Linked DNA regions of Homo sapiens: regions 1, 2, 4 and 5 are each linked to region 3. The links are contacts of gene promoters, found by promoter capture Hi-C in blood cells and fetal thymus (Javierre and others, 2016). All regions are on one chromosome and are shown on one strand. The core of a region is centred on a gene start or on the middle of the fragment in contact, and the rest is flanking DNA. Distances in the headings are between cores, read along the strand shown. Region 1 overlaps PIWIL2 (piwi like RNA-mediated gene silencing 2). Region 2 overlaps PIWIL2 (piwi like RNA-mediated gene silencing 2). Region 3 holds the start of PEBP4-AS1 (PEBP4 antisense RNA 1). Region 4 overlaps PIWIL2 (piwi like RNA-mediated gene silencing 2). Region 5 overlaps PIWIL2 (piwi like RNA-mediated gene silencing 2).

What was found. The method cuts DNA at HindIII sites, captures the fragments that hold promoters and counts their contacts. A CHiCAGO score of 5 or more calls a contact.
Region 1: a fragment that was not itself captured here is called in contact with the fragment with the promoter of PEBP4-AS1 in region 3 in 2 of 17 cell types (naive CD4 T cells and non-activated CD4 T cells); the score reaches 5.1 in naive CD4 T cells.
Region 2: a fragment that was not itself captured here is called in contact with the fragment with the promoter of PEBP4-AS1 in region 3 in 1 of 17 cell types (naive CD4 T cells); the score reaches 6.4 in naive CD4 T cells.
Region 4: a fragment that was not itself captured here is called in contact with the fragment with the promoter of PEBP4-AS1 in region 3 in 4 of 17 cell types (M2 macrophages, activated CD4 T cells, naive CD4 T cells and 1 more); the score reaches 5.3 in M2 macrophages.
Region 5: a contact is called between a fragment that was not itself captured here and the fragment with the promoter of PEBP4-AS1 in region 3, in 2 of 17 cell types (total CD8 T cells and naive CD4 T cells). The highest score is 5.3, in total CD8 T cells.

The regions. Positions count from the first base shown.
Region 1 is chr8:22,351,666-22,354,365 of GRCh38, reverse strand. It overlaps PIWIL2 (piwi like RNA-mediated gene silencing 2), which reads right to left. Exons shown (of 23, transcript NM_018068.5): 21 at 1,154-1,407; 22 at 1-95. Among named protein-coding and RNA genes, the nearest start is that of SLC39A14, 14 kb to the left of the region's middle. The HindIII fragment of the contact is 267 bases long and covers 1,298-1,564 here.
Region 2 is chr8:22,327,441-22,330,140 of GRCh38, reverse strand. The region is part of intron 20 of PIWIL2 (piwi like RNA-mediated gene silencing 2); the gene reads right to left. Among named protein-coding and RNA genes, the nearest start is that of SLC39A14, 38 kb to the left of the region's middle. The HindIII fragment of the contact is 1,363 bases long and covers 738-2,100 here.
Region 3 is chr8:22,876,575-22,879,274 of GRCh38, reverse strand. It overlaps PEBP4-AS1 (PEBP4 antisense RNA 1), which reads right to left and starts at 1,303. Exons shown (of 4, transcript NR_125433.1): 1 at 1,124-1,303. All of the region lies in intron 3 of PEBP4 (phosphatidylethanolamine binding protein 4), which reads left to right. RefSeq lists a silencer at 1,651-1,720. The HindIII fragment of the contact is 10,906 bases long and covers 1-2,700 here.
Region 4 is chr8:22,280,617-22,283,316 of GRCh38, reverse strand. PIWIL2 (piwi like RNA-mediated gene silencing 2) reads right to left here. Exons shown (of 23, transcript NM_018068.5): 3 at 2,110-2,197; 4 at 1,802-1,940; 5 at 77-283. Among named protein-coding and RNA genes, the nearest start is that of PIWIL2, 6.7 kb to the right of the region's middle. The HindIII fragment of the contact is 5,060 bases long and covers 1-2,700 here.
Region 5 is chr8:22,302,516-22,305,215 of GRCh38, reverse strand. It overlaps PIWIL2 (piwi like RNA-mediated gene silencing 2), which reads right to left. Exons shown (of 23, transcript NM_018068.5): 11 at 1,007-1,195; 12 at 348-432. Among named protein-coding and RNA genes, the nearest start is that of PIWIL2, 29 kb to the right of the region's middle. The HindIII fragment of the contact is 337 bases long and covers 1,146-1,482 here.

The DNA of each region.
Region 1 (2,700 bases), core at 182-2,681, 530 kb after region 3:
CAGGGCTCAGGTTTGCGGTGTTGAGAACACAGACATAATGCGTAGGAATGCCACAGCCCTGCCGTACATGATGGGCAAGAAGATAGAAATCCACCCTAGGAAGGAAAACCATAAATCAGTGAAATGGTCGGATTCAGCCAGACAGAGCTGGCAAAGATCCTGGAGATCGTTCTAGCTCCTTCAACTAAAGCTCAGAGAGCTCAAATGACTGGATCAAGGACACAGAGGCCAGACCAGGATTAGAACCCAGGTCTCCTGACTCAAGAGGCTACTGAAGAATGGTGGTAACAGGCTGGGTGCAGTGACTCATGCCTGTAATCCTAGCACTTTGGAAGGCTGAGGCAGGCAGATTGCTTGAGCCCAGGAGATCGAGACCAGTCTGGGCAACATGGCAAGACCCTGTCTCTACAAAAAATACAAAAATTAGTTGGGCATGGTGGCATACGCCTATTGTCCCAGCTACTCAGGAGGCTGAGGTGGGAGGATCACCTGGGCCTAAGCAGGTTGAGGCTGCAGTGAGCTGAGATCACATCATTGCACTCCACCCTGGACAACAAAGCGAGACCCTGCCTCAAAAAAAAAAAAAAAAAAAAAAAAAAAAGTGGTAGAAACTCCCTTATCTTCCTGTAGAAGTTAAGCATACGCTATCTTAGCAAAACAAGGTATGTTCAACTTTTCACTTAAGAGGTAAAAGCTTTCTTGTTTTTAAATCTTTTTTGTTTCGTTTTGAGACAGAGTCTCTCTCTGTTGCCCAGGCTGGATTACAGTGGACTTACTGCAACCTCCGCCTCCTAGGTTCAAGCGATTCTCCTGTCTCAGCCTCCCGAGTAGCTGGCATTACAGGCACACACCATCACACCTGGTTAATTTCTGTTATTTACAGTAGACAGGGTTTCACCATGTTGGCCAGGCTGGTATTGAACTCCTGACCTCAGGTGATCTAACTGCCTCAGCCTCCCAAAGCGTTGGGATTACAGACGTGAGCCACCATGCCAGGCCCTTAAATATTTTTTAAACCTTCATTCTTTTAACGGTAGCCTCTCTGAGATTCTAGTCCACAACTCTCCAGGAAACCTCCCCATTCCAATACTCAGGAAAGTGACAACATCTCCAACTTATTCTTCCTCCAATACTACATATTTTGCTCACTTACCACTCACAGCTTGTTATTGTATGATCTACCACAGTTCCAGGAGTGGGAGTTACAAAGTTCTGAGGAGCAGCCAGATATAGATTAGTACTGATTTTCTTCTGAACTACAAACACCACCATCTTGGGCTGATAATTCTCAAAAGCTTCAAAACACTTCTGTAGTTGAGGAATCTCATAGTTGGCAACTGTCTTCAGTTGGCCATCAGACACTCCATCACGGTACACCACAATCTTCTCTGGTAGACAGTGGTTCACCTGAAATGACAGCGAGGATGTGGTGACTCACAGAGCCCTCAGGCTACGGACCACAGTCAGTGAGAGGCCCACTCGCATTGTGTAGCCTGGAATCATGGCAGATCCTTTTGCAGTTAGTGCCAAAGCTACTGTGCCTAGAGGGCAGGGAAAAAAAGCTTCTAATCATTTCTAGACTTCCTTGGGGTAGTAAAACACGCCTGGTGCAGCAAAGGTGTTATAAAACATGAAAGCAAAACATGCAAGTTATGAGTCACATGCATACGGCTTATCCACAAACAATGCAAACAAAGTTCAAAGGAATGCTGGGAAAACTGCAGGCTGAATCAATTTTCCTTCTACTTGGATTTAACACTAATAACTGTCGGGGCAAAGAATAAGGTAAAGTGTTAGAGAAATTCTAACATATGACCACATATGCCACAGATCCGCTGCCATCAGATTTTTACCTACTGGAAATATCCCAAGTTGCTGACAAGTGAAACGTCCCTTTACTAAATATTACCCTACAGTCTGGTATGGTGTAAAACATACAGTAAACATACAGTAAAACATTTTTACTGTAACTAAGTAATTAGCAAACAGCTAGCTATGTGAATTGTCTATGGGTCCAAATTAAATTAAATGCTTGCTTGAAGCAATTTGAAGAATAATTTTTCCCCCATTTAGGGAATATAATTGTGTTCTAGTTGTGTTCAACTTCAATAATTCAAGAAGGGCCAGGCACGGTGGCTCACGCCTGTCATCCCAGCATGTTGGGAGGCCAAGGCGGGTGGATCACCTGAGGTCAGGAGTTCAAGACCAGCCTGGCCAACATGCTGAAACCCTGTTTCTACTAAAGATACAAAAATTACACAGGCATGGTGGCACATGCCTCTAATCCCAGCTACCTGGGAGGCTGAGGCAGGAAAATCACTTGAACTCATGGGGTGGAGGTTGCAGCAAGCTGAGATTGTGCCACTACACTCCAGCCTGGGCAACAAAATTCAAGAGGGTAAGTTCACTTCAACTTAAAATGGAAGTTCCCTTTAAAAGTGCTTTAGTTTAATTCAGTTTTGATTCTAGTGGAGTGTGGTTCATTCTAAGTTTGTGTTCATACTTACCCTCAAAAACCTAAATTATGGGCTGGACACGGTGGGTCACGCCTGTAATCCCAGCACTCTCAGAGGCCGAGGTGGGTGGATCACCTGAGGTCAGAAGTTCAAGACCACCCTGGCCAACATGGTGAAACCCTCGTCTCTACTAAAAATACAAAAATTAGCCAGGTGTGGTGGTGCACACCTGTAGTCCCAGCTA
Region 2 (2,700 bases), core at 170-2,669, 550 kb after region 3:
AATAAGAAAGAAAAATGAAGACAGCCTCTGAAACCTGGGAGATACCAACAAACACACCATCATATAAATATTTGCTGTCTCAAAAGGAGAAGAACAAGAGGAAGGGGCAAAAAGAATATCTGAGTAAATAATTAACACAAAAATTTCCCAAATTTGAGGAAAAACATTAACGGACACATCCCCAAAGCCTAAGGGACACCAAGCAGGATAAACTCAAAGCTGACCTGCAACATCAGCTATCCCCTGGGTCTCCAGCCTATTGGTTCATCCTGCAGATTTTGAACTTGCCAGCCTCCATAACTGTGTAAGCCTATTTGTTAAAATAAATCTATACACATGCTCACACCCTATCAGTCCAGTTTCTCTGGGGAATGCTAATACAGAATTAGCACCAAGAAAGTGGGAGAGAATAGAACTATACAGGAACAAAGTTTCTATATACTATTGCTACAGTCTGAATGTGTGTCCCTGCCAAATCTCATGTTGACATGTAATTCCCAATACTGGAGGTGGGGCATGGTGGGAGGTGTTTCGATTATAGGAGCAGATCCCTCAGGAATGGCTTGGGCCATCCCCTGGTGATAAGTGAGCTCTTGCTTTGAGTTTACACAAAGATTTGGTCACTTAAAATGTGTACCGCCTCTTCTTCTCTCTCACTTTCTCTCTCTCTCATTTACTCCTGCTTTCACCATGTGAAGTGCCTGCTTCTGCTTCACCTTCCACCATGACTGTAAGCTTCCTGAGGCCTCCCTAGCAGCTGAGTGGATGCCAGCATTATGCTTCGTGTAAAGCCTGCAGAACCATGAGCCAATTAAACCTCTTTTCTTTATAAATTATCCAGTCTCAGGTATCTTGTTACAGCAATGCAAGAATGGCCTGACACAACTATTAAAATTAATTTGGTATTAATCTGAACAAGACTGTTAAAAGTTAATATGCAGAAAAATCATCTGATAAAATCCAACACACTTTCATTATAAAAATACTCAGCAAATTAGGAGCAGAAACTTTCTTAACATGATAAAGGAAATTTATGAAAAACTCAGAGCTAACATCATATACAATGGTGAAAAACTGAAACCTTTGCCTCTACTATCAGGAAAAAGACAAAGATGCCTGATTTTAGCACTGCTATTCAATACCATAATAGAAATCCTAGCCATAACAATTAAGGAAGAAAAGGAAATAAACTAAGCAAATTAAGAAAGAAAAGGAAATAAAAAGAATTCAAACTGAAAAGAAAGAAGACTCCATTCCCATAAGCAAATGACATTATTCTGTATCTAGAAAATCCCAAAGAATTAAAAAAAAAAAAAAAAAAACGACTAGAGCTCATAACCACATTCAGAAAAGTTACAGGGTACATGATCAACACATAAAAACAGTTGTGTTTCTATATGCCAGCAATGAACAACCCAAAAATGAAATTAAAACTATTCCATTTACAATAGCATCCAAAAGAATAAAATAGCTAGGAATAAACTTCAACCAAACAGGTAAAGACTTATACATGGAAACTACAAAACACTGCTGAAAGAAATTTAAAAAGATCTAAATAAATAGAAAGACATCCTGTGTCCATATGCTGGAAGACAGTATTGTTAAGATGACAATACTCTTCAAAGTAATCTAGATATTCAATACAATCCCTATGAAAGTTTCAATGGCCTTTTTTTGCAGAAACAAAAAAACCTTCTCTCAAATTCATATACAATTCCAAGGGGGCACTGAATAGCAAAAACAATACTGAAAAAGAAAAATAAAGTTGGAAGACTCACACTCTCCAATTTCAAAACTTATTACAAAGCAACAATAATCAAAACAGTGTGTTACTGGCATAAAATGAGATGCACAGACCAATGGAATAGAATTAGCAGTCCAGAAATAAACCCAAACATCCATGACAATTGATTTTCAAGTAGGGTGCCAAGATTTCTCAATGGGGAATTCTCTCAACGAATGGTGCTATGACAAGTAGATATCCAGATGCGAAAGAATAAAACTGGACCCTTACCTCACTTTGTATAACTCAAATCAGTGACTTATATGTAAGAGTTAAAAAGTATAACATTGTTAGAAAAAAAAAACAGGGGACAAGCTTTTATGACCTTGGATTTGGCAATGAATTCTTAGATTGAGCACCAAAACCATAAGGAACAAAAGATACAATAGATAAATTGCATGTTATCAAAATTTAAAATTTTCGTGCAGCAGAGACCATTATCAAGCAAGTGAAAATCTAAAGAATGGGGGGAGATATTTGTAAATCATACATCAGATAAGAGTATAGTTTCCAGAATATTTTAAAAACTCCTACGACTCAACAACAAAACGACAAATAGCCCAATTTAAATGGGCAAAGGATTTGAATGACACAAACGAGCAACAAGCACATGAAGGATGTTCAACATCACTGGTCATTAAGAAACGCAAGTCAAAACCACAATGAGATACTTCACAACAGTGATGATTCAAGCCGGGCATGGTGATTCATGCCTGTAATCCCAGCACTTTGGGAGGCCAAGGTAGGCGGATCACCTGAGGTCGGGAGCTTGAGACCAGCCTGACCAACATGGAGAAACCCCGTCTCTACTAAAAATACAAAATTAGCTGGGCGTGGTGGTGCATGCCTGTAATCCCAGCTACTCAGGAGGCTGACGCAGGAGAATCGCTTCAACCCGGGAGGTGGAGGTTGTGGTG
Region 3 (2,700 bases), core at 54-2,553:
TCCAGAAGCAGACATGTCGCAATGCAATATGTTGAGTGCTGTTCTGTCAACATTGAGAGCGTTGAGGCCACACTCTCGTTCTGTGGCCTCACACAGATCAGTTAAACCTCCATGTCTGGTCTTCATCGTCACTGGGGATATTTGCTTCCCTTCCTAGCTGAGATCTATTCACTGTGAGTGGGCTCTGAGATGAGATTAGGATAGAGCATAGTAAAATGTTTCCCATGGGGAAGGGCTTGTCCTCTCTTTCAGTCTCTAAAGAGATGAAGGAACACAGAGGAGATACCACCCGCCCCATAGCCACGCTAAGCTGGGAACAAGAACTATAATTTTTAGCTCATCCCCCTACCCGGTGCTCTGTGATAAGAAACCAGCCCAACATCATTCTGGATGCCCTCTTCCAGCCTCCAGGGTCTGCCCGTGGTGGCTTAACTGTGATGACAGTTAAAATGCAAGAATACTTTCAAAAGGAGGGCTATTTTCCCCTTGGCATCCAGCTTGGCCTAGACATCCAGTTTGCTCTCTGTTCCCTGAGCTCCAAGCCTCCTCTCTGATGAAGCCAGGGAATGCACCCCTGTTTGGAGATCCTGTGCTCTGCCGACTTGCTCAGGCTGGCCAGTAGCAGAGTCCGAGTGAGCATCCCAGAGGAAGGAGGCCAGAGTACCCAAACCCAGAGGTGCCAGGCCCGGAGAGGGAAGCCCTCCCCACCTGTCTGCGCTTTGTGATTAGATATGAGCAATAGGGTAACTCACAGGCAGCAATCTCAGTCACTTGGTGTGTCAGGTAAACTGACGGGCAGAAAAGTGAGAAAGCACCACTTGGAAACCCAAGGCCACTGCCACACGGCCGGGTCCTGCCACCTCTCAGAGCCCTCCCACTGAGCATGCACTGACCCTCCACCCTCTCCCGCAGAGCCCATGCTGGTCTGACCTGCAGGATGTGTTTTCCGTAGAGGCCCCCAAATACCATCTTACCAGGCCAGTCCCCTACTATATTCTCTAACCTTAAATTCCAGGGATTCCGCCCCTCCCTCCCTCCCTCCCTCCCTCTCCCCCTCCCTCTCCATGCTCACCCTCCACCCCCTTTCCCTCAGGAGCTGCTCCTGTACCTGGAGTAGATTCACCTGCAAACACTCAGCTTGCAGGAGCACAGCAGACTGGGGAGTTTCCTTTCCCAGCCAAGCTGAGTTTGGAGGGGGGTGTGGGAGGAGGTGGGGAGGGCTGGGGACACAGGTTGAGTCTCTAAAGAATGAGGACTGCATTGCCTTCTTCCCTGCCTCCTGGTTACAGCTGAGAAAGTAACCAACTTCGTGTGTGTCTGTGTGTGTGTGTGTGTGTCTGCGCACGCGTGTGCAGTGTATGGATGCACAGACGGCCCCTCCATGGTGGGGTGGGGAGCCGTTCTCTCACCCTGCAGCTTTCTGCCTCTCCCTCCACCCTCCTCCGACTCCCTGCGTCCCACACTGCAGGTGTCTCTGAGGCAGTGTTTATGTAAGCAGCTCATGTTCTGCCGAGCGACAGCGAGAAGCTGTTGTCAATTCGAGGAAAGCCCCCGGCTGCCCACATGTGTGGTTGTCCCCGTGGGTTTCATAACAGGAGGGGGAGGTGGGGAGGTGGGGTGGTGGGCCCCTGGGGTGAGGGTGGCTGGGCTCAGCCCAGCCCAGGAGCCTCCTCCCCGCTGCCAACAGTGAGCCCGCCCGTGTGTTCACAAGCTGCTGGCCTCACCTCCTCTCCTCCCAGCTAGTTTCCCAGCCATTTGGCTACGGAGAGACAAAGTCAGTGCCTCCTGGCTCTGGCTGGCTCTGCCCAAGAATGTAGTACTTGGGTCGTGCTGGGCTACTGGAGTCAGGGCAAATAACCTGACATTTTGAAGGCACAAAAGTCCCAAGGACCTGCCAACCAACCAGGAGGTTGGTTTGATTCTGACCTCAGAATCAAAACATGGACCTGACGTTTTGATTCACAATAAGGACACGTAGCCCCATCATCTTTCTATTCCAAAGTCAGCTGTCCTCACCTGGACAACTGAGGACAGGGAGAGACTGGACAAAAAGGGCTCTTAGCCATTACAGTAGAAATGGCTGGGACACCTTATCCCTGAGGCTGAGGGCTGTTTGAGGATTCCCATTCAGCACAGCCTGGTTTGAGGAGGAAAGAAAAGACCAAAACATGGTGTCCACTTGATATGTTTATAAGGGTGGAATAAACTCCCTGAAACCCAAATCATAATTCAAATAGCTAATATATATGGAGTGCTTTTCTGATCCAAGCATCATGCTATGAAATGTACATTTCAGTCCTGGCAAAGACTTAATGAAGGAGGCACTATTAGCCTCATTTTAAAGATAAGGGTCCAAGGCCCAGAGAGGTTGAATAACTAGTCCAGCCTCACACAGCAGTTAAGGGAGAGGTTCTCCTTTCTACCCTGAACATTAACAGAAATGTGTTTACATTTTCTGGCTAACCAAGCCAGATTTTGGCTTTGCTCCAAGGAAGCTAATGTCCCACCTGAGAAGTAGCTTTGTTTAAACAGTGGAGAAAATAATTCCTAACTCATTTATTTACTTCTAATTTTACACTTCAAGTGCTGTTTATTTTCACAACAACACAAGCGCTATAAACATACACTGTCATCGATGAAGCACGTTTGTGAGGTGCCCCTGGGCTGCAAGTTGAGGTAGAGACAGAACATGTCATCACT
Region 4 (2,700 bases), core at 62-2,561, 600 kb after region 3:
ACAATACTACACACGAGCCAAAATGCAGAGTTTTCACGATCATTACTAAGTAGAGAAGGCAGTGCTCCTGACTTACTTTTCCTTGTGTTCCACAGTCAGGACCAGAGGGCGATCTGGAGAGTGCAGGGGAGACTGGGGCAGAGCTGGTGGTGATGACAGCTGCGGGGGACCCCGGGACGGTGTGCTGAAGGTACAGGGAGGCTTGTCCACTTCTCTGCTGATACCACCTGCTGCTCTTCCCAGTGGTAATAAAGACGCATCTGAACTCCCTCTTCCAAGCGTCCTGAAATGTGGAGAGAGAGGCAAATCAGGGTTTTTTATAATAGCTATGTCCCATCCAGATTATTCCCCCAACTCCACAATCTCTTCCTGGAGGAGACAGCAAAAGGGATCCAAGTTTCAAATTCTCTCAAACTACATATGCCAAGGCCAGGCACAGTGGCTCACGCCTGTAACCCTAGCACTTTGGGAAGCTAAGGTGGGGAGACTGCTTGAGCCCAGGAGTTCAAGACCAGCCTAAACAATACAGTGAGACCCCGCACTATAAAAAATACAAAAATTAGCCAGGTATGGTGGCTCATAACTGTAGTCCCAGCTACTCGGGTGGCTGAGGTGGGAGGATCACTTCAGCCTGGGAGGTCGAGGCTGCAGTGAGCTGAGATCACACCACTGCACTAAAGCCTGGGTGACAGAGATAGAACGAATTTCAAAAAAAAAACACAACATATGCCACCATGACTCATTCACCAACTGCTATTGACTGTCAGAGCCATCTTCCATAGCAGAATAGAGGAGAAAGTTTGACTCAACGTTATTAAAGAATCACCACGGCTGCGTGCAGGGGCTCACGCCTATAATCCCAGCTCTCTGGGAAGCCAAGGCGGGAGGATTACCTGATGTCAGGAGTTTGAGACCAACCTGGCTAATAAGATGAAACCCCGTCTCTACTAAAAATACAAAAATTAGCTGGGTGTGAGGCGGAGGTTGCAGTGAGCCAAGATCGTGCCACTGCACTCCAGCCTGGTGACAGAGTGAGACTGTCTCCAAAAAAAAAAAAAAAAAAAAAAAAAAAGCCGGGTGTGGTGGCGCACACCTGTAGTCCCAGCTACTCGGCACACTGAGGCAGGAGAATCGCTTGAACCTGGGAGGTGGAGGTTGCAGTGAGCCAAGATTGCCCCACTGCATTCCAGCCCGGTCAACACAGTGAGACCCCATCCCTTAAAAAAAAAAAAAAAAAAAAAAGTCCACGCACAGTGGGGCTCATGCCTGTAATCTCAGCACTTTGGGAGGCCGAGGTGGGTGGACTGCCTGAGGTCAGGAGCTCAAGACCAGCCTGGCGAACACAGTGAAACCTCGTCTCTACTAAAAATACAAAAAATTAGTTGGGTATGGTGCCACATGCCTGTAGTCCCAGACACCTGGGAGGCTGAGGCAGGAGAATTGCTTGAACCTGGGAGGCGGAGGTTGCAGTGAGCCAAGATTGAGGCATTGCACTCCAGCTTGGGAGACAGAGCAAAACTTCATCTCAAAAAAAAAAAAAAAAAAAAAATCACCATGATCAGGGTAATTTTTTAAGAGGACAAATGAATTTTTGAACAGCCCAGTGGAGAACTACTTCTTACCCTTTTCCAATGCCTAGCTGTGTTAACAGCTGCTGACTACTCTTGAGAAATATGCATTCTTTAATATAAAACCAGACATTGATTATGAGATGACACAACTCTTCTTAGAGTTGCTCTCTGAACTTACAGAGATATTCCATCTGAATTTGATAGTTACCTGAGAGGGTAACTTTACCCACCTACTCCAACCAACGGAGGTCTCTGCCATCTTGCTGTCCCCAGCCGCCAACACTTTTGGATCCCAAAAAGTGGGAGAGAGTTCCTCCCTGTCCTTGCGTACCAGATTAGCAGACAAGCCTCGACCTAAAATGCCTCTACCTGAAAGAAAGAACCGAACCCCAGCAATGACTATGACTTAAACGTGTTTTAAAGTATAGTTTTTTTTTTTAAAAAAAGCACAGTTACGTTTCTGAAAATAAACCATTTGGATTTTAGAAGAAACCAATCATACATACCACCAAATTTCTCAAGTTAGTTTTCCACATACCTGATGGAAGCATTTCCCGTTTCAGAGGGGTCTTAGAAACTGTTTCAATGCCCAGGCCTCGGAACATGGAGACCAAACCCACAGACTCCTGTGGAAAGTCAAAGAATAAAGTTCTAAGAGGTAGTTTAAAACCCCAGAAACAAGGGCTTTCTTAGTCTTGGTATATAATAAAATCATCTTCAAATTCTATACATGTTATAAGAATAAAGGGAAACATTTTATAAACTTTAAAAAATACCTGTAACTATGTAATATTAGGTCTTAAAGCACAGTTACAGTTATGGCCCATGATTTGATGTGTACAGTATAACAAAATGCAACAGAACAGAATTAACTTTTCCATTTTGATTTGATAAACAGTATAACAAAATGCAACAGAACAGAGTTAATTTTTCCATTTTGATTTGATAAACAGTATAACAAAATGCAACAGAACTTTTCCATTTTTCTATTTTCTGCATATTCAAGGCAAGAGAGAACAAGTGTACTGGTTAATACATTTCAAAAAAGCTGGATCATTTATGAGTATCAGAGGTTTGTGTAACCTGCTACTGTTTTCCTGTGGCAGTCTTGAATGTCTACTACTGTTAT
Region 5 (2,700 bases), core at 65-2,564, 570 kb after region 3:
GTCAAATAAATAAATAAATAAATAAATAAATAAATAAATAAATGAATATCTATACCTTTCCTCATGGATTCAGAGTTTTAATCTTCCTTCACTGGAAATTCTCCTTAACTCTTTAACCTAATAGCTTATGTGGATATTTAGTTCCGCCTCGTGGGGACTTCTAAAGCAGATCTTACCAGTGTGAGTGGTGCCTCTGGCTGGATGAGACAGACAAACACTTGCACAGCTTTCCGCAACTACACTACGATTGCTACTCCACAGCTCCCACAAAGCCATGAGGACGGCTAAAAGCAGCTGACAGGATGAAGAACTTAAGCTGGAATTGTAAGCCTGACAGCCCTACTCACCATCCCATGATTATCCTGTCTCTCACTGGGCCTGTGAATCAGCAATGGCTGGTCCTCTTCCTTAACTGTGATCCCATAATTTTTGCTAGAGCAGAGTAGAGGCAGGAAAAAATTTCAGAAGCAGCATCAATACTCTTAGAGCACCATAGTCTGAGTCTCTTAACCAGGACTGAGGTATATAATTTGCATAATACTCTTGTCAAGGAGCCACTGCAAACCGATCATAATATATTTATAACAGGAAAAAGCAGGCTCAAATTATGTTGCAATTAAATATAGGAGAAATAAGGCTAAAAGTTCAAGAAAGACTTTGTTAAAAACATCAGGCTAAAGGGTTCAGGCAATAGAAACATGAAATGACAGTCAAATGATTAATGACTTGAATTTAATCTCTCCAGACTTCTAATAAAATCAGAAAAACAATTCAAAGCCCTTAATTTATATAGTAACTTCCAAATTACTAAAATAATTGAAGATATAATGGTAGCATACTCAAGTCAAATCCCACAAACAAGCTCATTCAGTGTTAGACACATTACCAATTCAATTATTTTGAAAAGTGTCAAGTGGTATGCTATTGCAGAACTCAATATCTGCTGGAGAACGTGGACTACATCCAACCCCCACCCTGAGGCCCAAACCCAGTCTCTTCTTGCTACCTGTAGTATTCCAAGAATGTGATCTCTTTCCCATCAGACATCGTGAAGCTATCCTTTGGAGTCTTATTCCAATCCACATCATCAATACGATAGGTACGATTGTTATATCGGGTGATAACAATATTGCCAACCAGAAGCTTAGTACACTCATCCTGGAAGTGTTCTTTATTCTGCTGATAAATGGCATGCCTTTGGAAAGAGATAAAAGACTTTTGGATCACAGTATATATCCAGAACAGTATGAAAGGGATAGGGGATCAAGTAATTGAGGAATCTAATCACAGCTATATAGCACCAGAAGGCTCCAGTTGTGTTAAAAGATGGGACTCTTGGCCAGATGCAGTGGCTCACGCTTGTAATCCCAGCATTTTAGGAGGCAGAGGCAGGAGGACTGCTTGAACCCAGAAGTTGGAGACCAGCCTGGGCAACATAGTGATACCTTATTTCCTTGGTGGGGGAAAAAAAAGGAAAAAGCTTAAGAGGGCCTGAACTGCAGGAAATAAGAGAATATAGGCCTACCAGGCATGATGGCTCACAGTTGTAGTCCCAGCTATTCGAGAGGCTAAGGTGGGAGGATTGCTTGAGCCCAGGATATTGACATCAGCCTGGGCAACATGGCGAGACCCCATCTCTAAAAAACTTAAAAAATTAGCCAGGTGTAGTGGCGTACCTTGTAGTCCCAGATACTCCAGAGACTGAGGGAGGTGGGAAGACGGCTTGAACCCAGGAGTTTGAGGCTACAGTGAGCTATGATAGCATCACTGCACTCCATCCTGGGTGACAAAGTAAGGCCCTGTCCCTAAATTAATTAAAATTAATTGTTTAAAATTTCGTACTTTGAAATACTCATCAAATCATAGAAAGTTGCAAAATGTGGACATAGAGTCTCATGTACAAAACTGCCATTGCTATAATATCATTAACTAGACTACAGATCTTACTCCATTTTCATTGTTACTTACATACACTGGTGTGTTTGTATGTGTATACAGTTTCCTCACATCTATAGGTTACCACAATCAGATACCAAACTGTTGCATGTCACCACCAAGGGACTATTTCCTGCTGCCCTTTATATTCACACTCCCCCTCCTTCCCTAGATCTGGTAACTACCAGTCTATTCTCTAGCTTTGTCATTTTGAGACTCCTACAGAAATAGAACCAAAAAGTGTACAACCTTTTGAGATAGAGAAAACTTAATCTAGGGGTAGGGATGGGAACCCATGGCAAGCCAACTACAAGTGGCAATGGAGAAAAGCAAAGTTCTGTTAGCCTAGATTTGTTGTCTAAGTTGAGGTGGGCAGTGCATCAACTAGAAATTTAAGGGCTAAATCCTGGTAATCAGAAAGCCATAGAAGGCCACACATCCTTGGCTGACTGGGAAACCATCTATGCTTAGAAGAGAGCCAAGAAATCTCAGCTGAGAGTTAAAAGCCAAAAAAGATGGGAGAACTACATTTAATTTTGAAAGCATTCTTCAATCTACACACAAATCCATTAGCAGAGATGGAAGCCTTATGGAGTCATGGGGTTTGAGTATAACTGCTCTCCAAATCATTATCCGAATGACTAAGCTCTACAGACAAGGGGGTGATCACTAGGAAGCCAGGTTAAAAAATGATAATAAGGAAAAACCGAGCAAAGACATCAGCAGCCGCACGCCACAGAAATAACAGAGTCTTTAGTCTCAATA